3 separate regions of the Homo sapiens genome follow, and all the other regions are linked to region 1. The links are contacts of gene promoters, found by promoter capture Hi-C in blood cells and fetal thymus (Javierre and others, 2016). All regions are on one chromosome and are shown on one strand. Each heading gives the region's core, a stretch centred on a gene start or on the middle of the fragment in contact. The rest is flanking DNA. Distances are from core to core; before and after follow the strand shown. Region 1 holds the start of HSD11B2 (hydroxysteroid 11-beta dehydrogenase 2). Region 2 overlaps KCTD19 (potassium channel tetramerization domain containing 19). Region 3 has its middle 9.6 kb from the start of TMEM208.

Region 1 (2,700 bases), core at 176-2,675:
TATCTCCACTCATGCTCCAAGGCCCCACTCAAGGATTTCCTCCTCCGGAAAATTCTCCCAGCCCCATCTGATCACACAGGGCCCCTACTAGACCGAGGTCTCTGAGAAGCCAGGTTGCTGGCTGCCCCAGCAAAGGCCCAGCGCAAGGACAAAGCCTGGAGCACCTGTCCAAAGCCGTGGGTATTGGCGAGAGACCAGGCTGCTCCTCCCACGATGCAATGGAGTCAGTGCCCCCTGGCCTTTCTCCCCCTCCCCACTTCCGGCGGGCCTCCAGCCCCCCCCCCCCTTCCCCTTCCCTCCCTCTGGTGACAGATTTATTCCCTGCTCCAGACAAAGGAGCTCAGCTAGGCGGCCAGAGGCACCTGAGCCCAGCTCTCTAAGAGCTCCTTCCTGGGCACAGAGGACCAGGAGGGCTTGGGGGTGGGGTGCTGGGTGTAGGCTCCAAACTACTGCCTCAGCAGTTTGGCAGTGGGTGGCTAGACAGAAAGACAGCTGAATGTCCAGCTGCCCCTCACGGTGACCTCTAGCTTTTCTGAACTCCAAGGATCCCAGCCAGTGGGGGATGGGTGGGGTGGGGAAGTTCCCCATCTAAGCTCTTCCCTCTGGCCCGAGGAATGGGAGATGGGTATCTTAGGTGGGGATGTCAGGCAGAGTTCAAGGGGTAACGATCCTCCCTTCTCAAGGCCTCCGAAGTCCCCTGAGACTGCTCTCTTGGGGAAGGGAATGGCATAAACTCTCAAACTCCAGGAGGTTCCCTCTTCTCAGCCACCAGTCAGTTTCCTTCTCGAACCGGCCCACTCCCTGTCTCACTTTCCCTCCAACACTCCCCGCAGCGGCAGGTAGTGAACCCGGGCTTGGGGAGGTGCCCGGCGCTCCCTATTTGGCTCGCTCCCTGCACCCAGGGGTGGAGAACTCTCCCACTCTTGCGCTGAGGAGCCCGCCTTGGCTGTGCCCATGGGGAGTCAGTCCTGTTGAGTGTCCAGTCCCGCCCTCGAGCCTGGAGTCCCCGCGCTCCGCGACCCGCGCACTCACCGGTGATGAGCACCGCGCGAGTGGCCACCGGCAGGCGCTGCGGGCGCGCCAGGCGGGACAACGCGATCCAGCCGGCGGCGGCCAGCACGGCGAGTGCGGCCGGCGGGGGCAGCAGGCGCTGGCACAGCCAGTCGAGCGCGGCCAGCAGCGCCAGCGCCGCCAGCAGCGGGCGGCCCAGACGCAGGTCTGAGCGCAGCAGCTGCAGCAGCGCGCGGGCAGCCACGAGCAGCCAGGCGCCGCCCGACGGCCAAGGCCAGCGCTCCATGGCGGCCCAGCGGGCTGGGGCGGGGCGGGGCGGGGGCCGGGCCGGGGAGCGGGGAGAGAGAGCTTCTAGGCCGGGGCGCGGAGTGCGGGGGTACACCGGCCTGGGGCGCGAGAGGGACACTCGCTTTCTCTGCTCGCCCTCGGGCCGAGCTTATGAAGAGCCCCGGGGGCGGGGGAGAGGGCGGGGAGCGGGAGGGGCGGGGGCGGGGCTTTCCTTCACTTCTCTCCCGGCACCCCCCGCAGGGCAGGTGCTCCCCCCCCGCCCCGCCCCCTCGACCAGATTCGATTTGGAAAAAGCCGGAACAAAGTCCCAAAGTTGCTGCGCTCGAGGAGCCGCCTGGCTGCGGGCGGTGCTTGGGAGAGGGCCCGTCGGTCCAGCCCGGGTGCCCGGCCTCAGCTCTCCGCCGCGCCCCCACCCACACGCCCGGGGCCGCCAAGCCGCCGCGCTCAGGTGAGCACATGCCACTCACGCTTGTTCGGGACACCTGAGGACACGCACAACCGGCATCCCGGTGCCCTTTGCTGATCGCACCACCGCGGCCGCCAAGCCTGCAGGAACACCGCGAGGAACCAGCCGGTGCTCACCCGGTCTCCGCTGCCGCTGCCGCTGCCGCCCGCGCCCGTACACGCGCCGCACTCCCACGTGGTCGGCTGCGCCAGGTCCCTGGCGCACACACCCTAAGGCGCGCTCACCCCTGAGCAGCTCGCGGCCACAAAACCTGCCTGGGACAGGGGCTGGCGGGGGAACAGGACGACCGCTCCCGGTTCTTGGAGTCTCTGCCCCGTCTTTCCCTTTCCTTCCAGGGCTTAAACCTGGGGACGCACAACCCCACTTCCTGCCTCACAAATGTATGTGTGTGGGGGTCAGTGGAGGGTGGGGTGTCAGAGGAAGCACCTAGGTCTCCCATTACTTATGGCCCACCCCCGCCAACCCCAAGAGCCAGGCCAGAGGGACGTCGGTGAAGGCAGCCTCTAGGACAGGGTGGTCCCTGCCTTGCTCCCCTGAACCCCCAGGGGGTAAAATAAGTGGTATGAGTGTGGGTGGATTTTTCTGCCTGCGTGTGTGAAGGTCTCCATGCTTGTGTGTGGCCCAGTGGCCCCCCACCCTGCCCACCCCCGTGTCTGGCACCCTGTGCCTAGCATCCATGCCAGGGCTCTGCCAGGCACTGGGAGTTGGTGCCAGTACCTGGCTGCAGGCTTGATGCTGAGAGCAGTAGGTGTAGCCCTCGACAGAGGGGTCCCTGCTTCCCGTGGGCTTCCAGGCCGTGCTCAGTGCCTCATCCCTGCCCTCCCAAGATCCTGGGAGGTTGTGGACTCCCTGTCACACTTCCTAGCCCTGTTGCTCATTCTCTCTTAGGTGCCCAGGCTCTGCCAGGGTTTCAGGGCAATGCCTCCTCCAAAGCC
Region 2 (2,700 bases), core at 132-2,631, 140 kb after region 1:
AGATTGGAGGGAATAGATGATGTGGCCAGGACGAGGAACTGTAGATGGAGGAGGAGGGGAAAGCCAGGCCAATATTTTGGATTTTTACAAAAGGGAAACTTTCATATTAAGTGCTCCCTCCTCACCTCCAAGCCCACAATTCGTCTCCAGCAGCAGACAGGGCTGTTACCCAGTCTGGGGCCACGCAGGACCCCCAGGGCAGGCCTGCCTTGACCCTGGGAGCTGACTTGCTGTGCTTCTCACAGCCATGCAGGGAGGAGCCTCCTCTGTTAAACAGAGCTGTCCCTGGGTCCATTTAACAGCCAAAAAATAGGTTCAGAGAAGAAAACTCACTCAAGTTACACAGTGGTCAAGCTGGGGTTTGACTGAGTCCAAAGCTAATGTTGTTTTCACCAGCTGCCTATAACTTCTTATTACCAAAAATTTGGGGGACAAAGTTTAAGCTGTATTACTATCATTTAGCAGCATCCAACATTTATTGAGTACCGGTCATATACCAGGACAGCAGTAGACACTGGCGGCACAGAAGTAAGCAACACAGACTTAGTCCCTTTCTTCCTGGAGTTCACGGTCTAGTTCTATACATCTTATCTCTTGGTTATATAATCTAGTTATATACCCTTCATTCATTACAGAGCTCATTAGAAACTGCTTCCCAAACATCAGAACAAGGCCTACATATAGTCATCTCCAGGAAAAGGGTTATGGGTTCATCTTTCCAGCATACAGCCCCCATTCTCCAGACATGCCTAGAGGCTTAGTCTCATAAAAGTGACAGGGATTTGATGAGAGTTGGCTCCATGACATTTGCCAAACCACGAACATAAACACACAGAGAGAGATTCCTAGCTTCAGTCTGAGTGGCCACATGAAAAGCTACACACTCAGGACACACCCAACCAGAAACCGGAGGCAGCTGGCATTGTAGGTGGACAGGGTCATCAACCCAGCTTTCCTGAGGGAGGAGGGTCAGGTGAAGAGGGGCAGTGCCCTTTCCCGCCTCACCACCCAGGAAACCTTGCAGCAAGCAAGGTTTATGTCAGGGATTTCTGCTGCTTCTCAGACTAGGCAACACAATATGACTGAGGAAAGATATTGAGACTTAACGTGAAATACACTACTAACCAAAGGGCCCTACCTGCTTTCCCTTCTGGCCATATGATGATGTGTTCTATCTCCTGGATTCCCATAGATGAGTGGACGGCAGAGATCACTGTGTATTCCCCACAACAGATCATCAAAGTGTATGTTGGAAGCCACTGGTACGCAACCACCCTGCAGACACTGCTGAAGGTACTGACGGCCTCGGCTGCCCTGCTCCCCATCTGGCATCACCACCTGAGCTGCTCTGGGGGCCATCACCTGGCCCTCACACAGCTTCCAGCACTTGCTTAGAACAAAGGCTTTCCCGCCAGGCACGGTGGCTCATGCCTGTAATCCCAGCACTTTGGGAGGCTGAGGTGGGCAGATCACGAGATCAGGAGTTCAAGACCAGCCTGACCAACATGGTGAAACCCCGTCTGTACTAAAAATACAAAAATTAGCTGGGTGTGATGGCACGTGCCTGTAATCCCAGATACTTGGGAGGCTGAAGCACCAGAATTGTTTGAACCCAGGAGATAGAAGTTGCAGTGAGCTGAGATCGCGCCACTGCACTCCAACCTGGGTGACGGAGTGTGACTCTGCCTCAAAAAACAAAACAAAACAGAGCACAAGTGGACCGAGTGGCCTGCTGGGAAGGCCCTCCAGAGTTTGCATAGGGAGGGGGCCAGCTCTGAGGGACCTGGACTGAGAAGGAGGTACGGTGGGCTTCCAAATGCCTTGAGAGGGTGGTCTAGGGGCCATCAAAAGTTGAAGCAGGGATGATGTGCTTCTCCCTGGAAGCTCTGCTCCCCACCATGGTTCCTTGTGACTGACAAGACAGGGAAATGGAATCTCAAAGCCTCTGCTCTAGTGTAGTTGGAAAAGGGGAGTGAGAGAAGATTGACCTGCCCCTTCGCAAAGACCTAGCCTCTGAGACTGAGTCCGGTGTCCAACCCCCTCCAGTATCCAGAACTGCTGTCCAACCCTCAGAGAGTGTACTGGATCACATATGGACAAACCCTGCTCATCCACGGGGATGGCCAGATGTTCCGACACATTCTCAACTTCCTGAGACTTGGCAAACTGTTTTTACCATCTGAATTTAAGTAAGTGAAGCAAGGACGCAGTAAGATGAAATCACGAAGGCTGACCCCTCCCTTAGCAACAAAGGAGACCTGAGTTGCAGCCTTCAGGGAGGAGGTTATTTTATTTCCATCGTGGGAACTGTTGGCAGCGGCAGTTCCAGGAGCTCATGCTCCCTCCCACACCCTCATCCTAGCTGCCCAGCTGGATATCTCCTTGTTGTTTGCAGGGAATGGCCCCTCTTCTGCCAGGAGGTGGAGGAATACCACATTCCATCCCTCTCAGAAGCCCTTGCACAATGTGAAGCATACAAGTAAGAAAACTTTATCACGACTCTATGTTTAGAATTTGGTCCTTTAAATTCCTCTTGAAATCCTGTCCTAAGTCCTACTCCTAGAGGATCCTGATCTCCTTGGGGTTGAGGGAGTGAAGCAGGCCCAGGATTGGCCAGTGACCTAGGCAAAACCCTTTAAGAGCCCCTTCTTCCCTGCTGTCTAGCATTAACTCCCAGCCAAAGAGCAGATCTGACCAACT
Region 3 (2,787 bases), core at 60-2,559, 210 kb after region 1:
AATGCTGGTAGATCAATTGAGGTCAGGAGTTCGAGACCACCCTGGCCAACATGGTGAAACCCCATCTCTACTAAAAATACAAAAATTAGCTGGGCATGGTGGCGAATGCCTGTAATCACAGCTCTTCGGGAGGCTGAGGCAGGAGAATCACTTGAACCTGGGAGGTGGGGCTTGCAGTGAGCTGAGATCATGTCACTGCACTCCAGCCTGGGCAACAGAGCAAGACTCCATTTCAAAAAAAAACAACGAAAAACCCATCCTGGCTAACACGGTGAAACCCCATCTCTACTAAAAAAAAAAAAAAAAATACAAAAAATTAGCTGGGCGTGGTGGTGGGCGCCTGTAGTCCCAGCTACTCAGGAGGCTGAGGCAGGAGAATGGCATGAACCCAGGAAGCGGAGCTTGCAGTGAGCCGAGATTGCACCACTGCACTCCAGCCAGTCTGGGCAAGACTCCATCTCAAAAAAAAAAGGAAAAAAAAAAAAAAAGAGGCCGCGTGCAGTGGCTCACACCTATAATCCCAGCACTTTGGGAGGCCAAGGTGGGTGGATCACATGGTCAGGAGTTCAAGACCATCCTGGCCAAGATGGTGAAACCCCGTCTCTACTAAAAATACAAAAAATTAGCCGGGCATGGTGGCAGGTGCCTGTAATCCCAGCTACTCAGGAGGCTAAGGCAGAGAATCGCTTGAACCTGGAAGGTGGAGGTTGCAGTGAACTGAGATCGTGCCACTGCACTCCAGCCTGGGTGACAGAGTGAGACTCTGTCTCAAAAAAAAAAAAAGTAAATAAATAAATTAAATAAATAAATAAATGCTTCAGGGAGTCACTAGAGGAGGGGTGAAGATTCGGGGAGGAGAGAGGTCAGGTGTAGAAGATGGTGGCAGGGACAGGCTTCCACATACCAAGCTTGATCTGGGATAGGATGGAGAGGATATCACCTCTCCCTTTTTTTTTTTTGTTTTTTTGTGTGTGTATGTGTGTGTTTTTCTTTTTTGTTTTTTCAGCATCAGTTTGGTGAAAAAAAGGATGTCACCTCTTCCTGAGGAAGCAGAGAGGTGGGGGTGGAAACATGGAGCTATTTGCAGAGAAGTTCCTCAGAGGCATCTCCTTCCTCAGCGGCCCCTTCACTCAGTGGATTTGGAGACCAGGTTGTCTCAGGAGAGTAAAAAGAGACATAGAGGCCAGGGCTTCAGCAGAGAGGGTTGGAGCAGTCACAGGACAGGAGGAAGATGGAAAATTACCAGAGACACATAGAGAGGGTGTGGGCAGCCTTACTCAAATGTTTCTGCTGTGCCGGGCAGTGTGCTGGGCACCAGCGAGGCAAAACTGAGGAAGGCACAGGGCTGGGGAGTGTGTAGTGAGTACAGATGAGTAAAAAGAGGCTGGGGTGCTGCATTTGAAGTCTGTGTGAGGCACATCATGGGTGCAGAGAAAAGATCAGAAAAGACTCCATGGAGAAGGAGGTGCTTGGCCTGAGACTCGAGAGAGGAATAAACATTTGCCAAATAGACCAATAGGAGCCAGTGAGGGGTGGGACCCCCCCAGAACAGAAAAAGCAGCTGAGCAGAGGCGTGCGGTACAGGACAATGGTCAGAAGTGGCAGCCCCAGAGCCAGGACTAGGAGGAAGGGGAACGGGCTTGGGAAGAGCTTGGCTGAAGCAGCAGGCCTGGGTCCTAGAAGGGCTTGAATGCAGGCTTAGGAAGCTTAGCCTGTGTCCTGGAGGCGTGCGGAACTGGCAGAGGGTCTGGAGAGCACAGGCAGAATCGCCTTTTGGAAGGGTCACATGGTGACAAAACCCAGGATGGATTGGAGCCAGAGGAACTGGAGGCCAGGACCTGATAAGGAGGAAGCTGGCGTGGTCTGAGCTTAGAGGAAGCAGCTCTCGGGCTGCTGGCATACAGTATGGGGACTTCAACTAGGGCAGAAGCAGTGAGGTTGGAGCAGAGGGACAGATTGCACCGTATCAGGGAAACAAAAGTGGAAGGGGCTTGGGTCATTGTGGATGTGGGGAGTGAGGGAGGATTCTAGAATCACTCCCAAATTTCCCACTTGGGTGACTCAATAGAGGGTGGGGAGAGTTTAGAAGGAGCAGAGTTGGAGGATGAGATGATGAGTTCAGATTTGGGTATGCTGCATCGTGCCCTCTGGAGAGAGGCCAGTCAGGCACTTGGCTCCCGGGGTCTGGCGTTCAGGAACATCATGTGGATCGGAAAGACAGTGGTTGGAATGATGGCCCCATGGGGCAAAATGCAGTTGGCCAGGGTACACTCGGAGGGGCACAAAGATCGTGTGCATATGTGCACGTGCACACGTGTGTGTGTTCTTGGGTGGAACAAACCATGGGGAACCCACTCATCTGTGGACTGGATCTCTGTTCTTTGTTGACCCCAAAAGAGCCTGAAGAAGAGCAGGCTAGAAGGTAGGAGGAAAGCCAGGGGGGCAGAGTTGCAGAACCCCAGTGGAGATGGCATCAAGGGGAGTGGCTGCTGGCCATGCAGAGCAGGTGACATGGCAGAGAGAACCCTTGTGGGAGGTCTGAGGTGAAGCCCCCACATGTTGGTGACCTTGCTGGAGGGGAGTTGTTGCCAGGAATGCGTGATCCTGTGGGGGCCAGGGTGGAGGGGTGAGCAGGTGAGGCGAGGGGCAACGAGTGGCGGGACAGCAGGCATGCCTGTGCCTGTGTGCTTCCAAGAAGCGTGGCTGTAGAGGAAGGGGAGAGAAGAGAGGCAAGAGGAAGGGGTGCGGGATGAAAGGAGGCTTTTAGTTGCAGTTTAAGACTCTGGG

The links. Contacts are between HindIII fragments. The CHiCAGO score rates a contact against its expected background, and 5 or more counts as called.
Region 2: a contact is called between a fragment that was not itself captured here and the fragment with the promoter of HSD11B2 in region 1, in 2 of 17 cell types (endothelial precursors and M1 macrophages). The highest score is 5.7, in endothelial precursors.
Region 3: a fragment that was not itself captured here is called in contact with the fragment with the promoter of HSD11B2 in region 1 in 3 of 17 cell types (endothelial precursors, megakaryocytes and M1 macrophages); the score reaches 5.9 in endothelial precursors.

Annotation. Positions count from the first base shown.
Region 1 is chr16:67,429,846-67,432,545 of GRCh38, reverse strand. HSD11B2 (hydroxysteroid 11-beta dehydrogenase 2) reads right to left here and starts at 1,425. Exons shown (of 5, transcript NM_000196.4): 1 at 1,033-1,425. The coding sequence starts at 1,297. RefSeq lists silencers at 1,307-1,486, 1,707-1,756. The HindIII fragment of the contact is 16,145 bases long and covers 1-2,700 here.
Region 2 is chr16:67,294,752-67,297,451 of GRCh38, reverse strand. It overlaps KCTD19 (potassium channel tetramerization domain containing 19), which reads left to right. Exons shown (of 16, transcript NM_001100915.3): 8 at 1,193-1,293; 9 at 2,047-2,189; 10 at 2,396-2,479. Among named protein-coding and RNA genes, the nearest start is that of PLEKHG4, 17 kb to the right of the region's middle. The HindIII fragment of the contact is 2,833 bases long and covers 1-2,700 here.
Region 3 is chr16:67,216,178-67,218,964 of GRCh38, reverse strand. It overlaps the pseudogene FBXL9P. Among named protein-coding and RNA genes, the nearest start is that of TMEM208, 9.6 kb to the left of the region's middle. The HindIII fragment of the contact is 798 bases long and covers 911-1,708 here.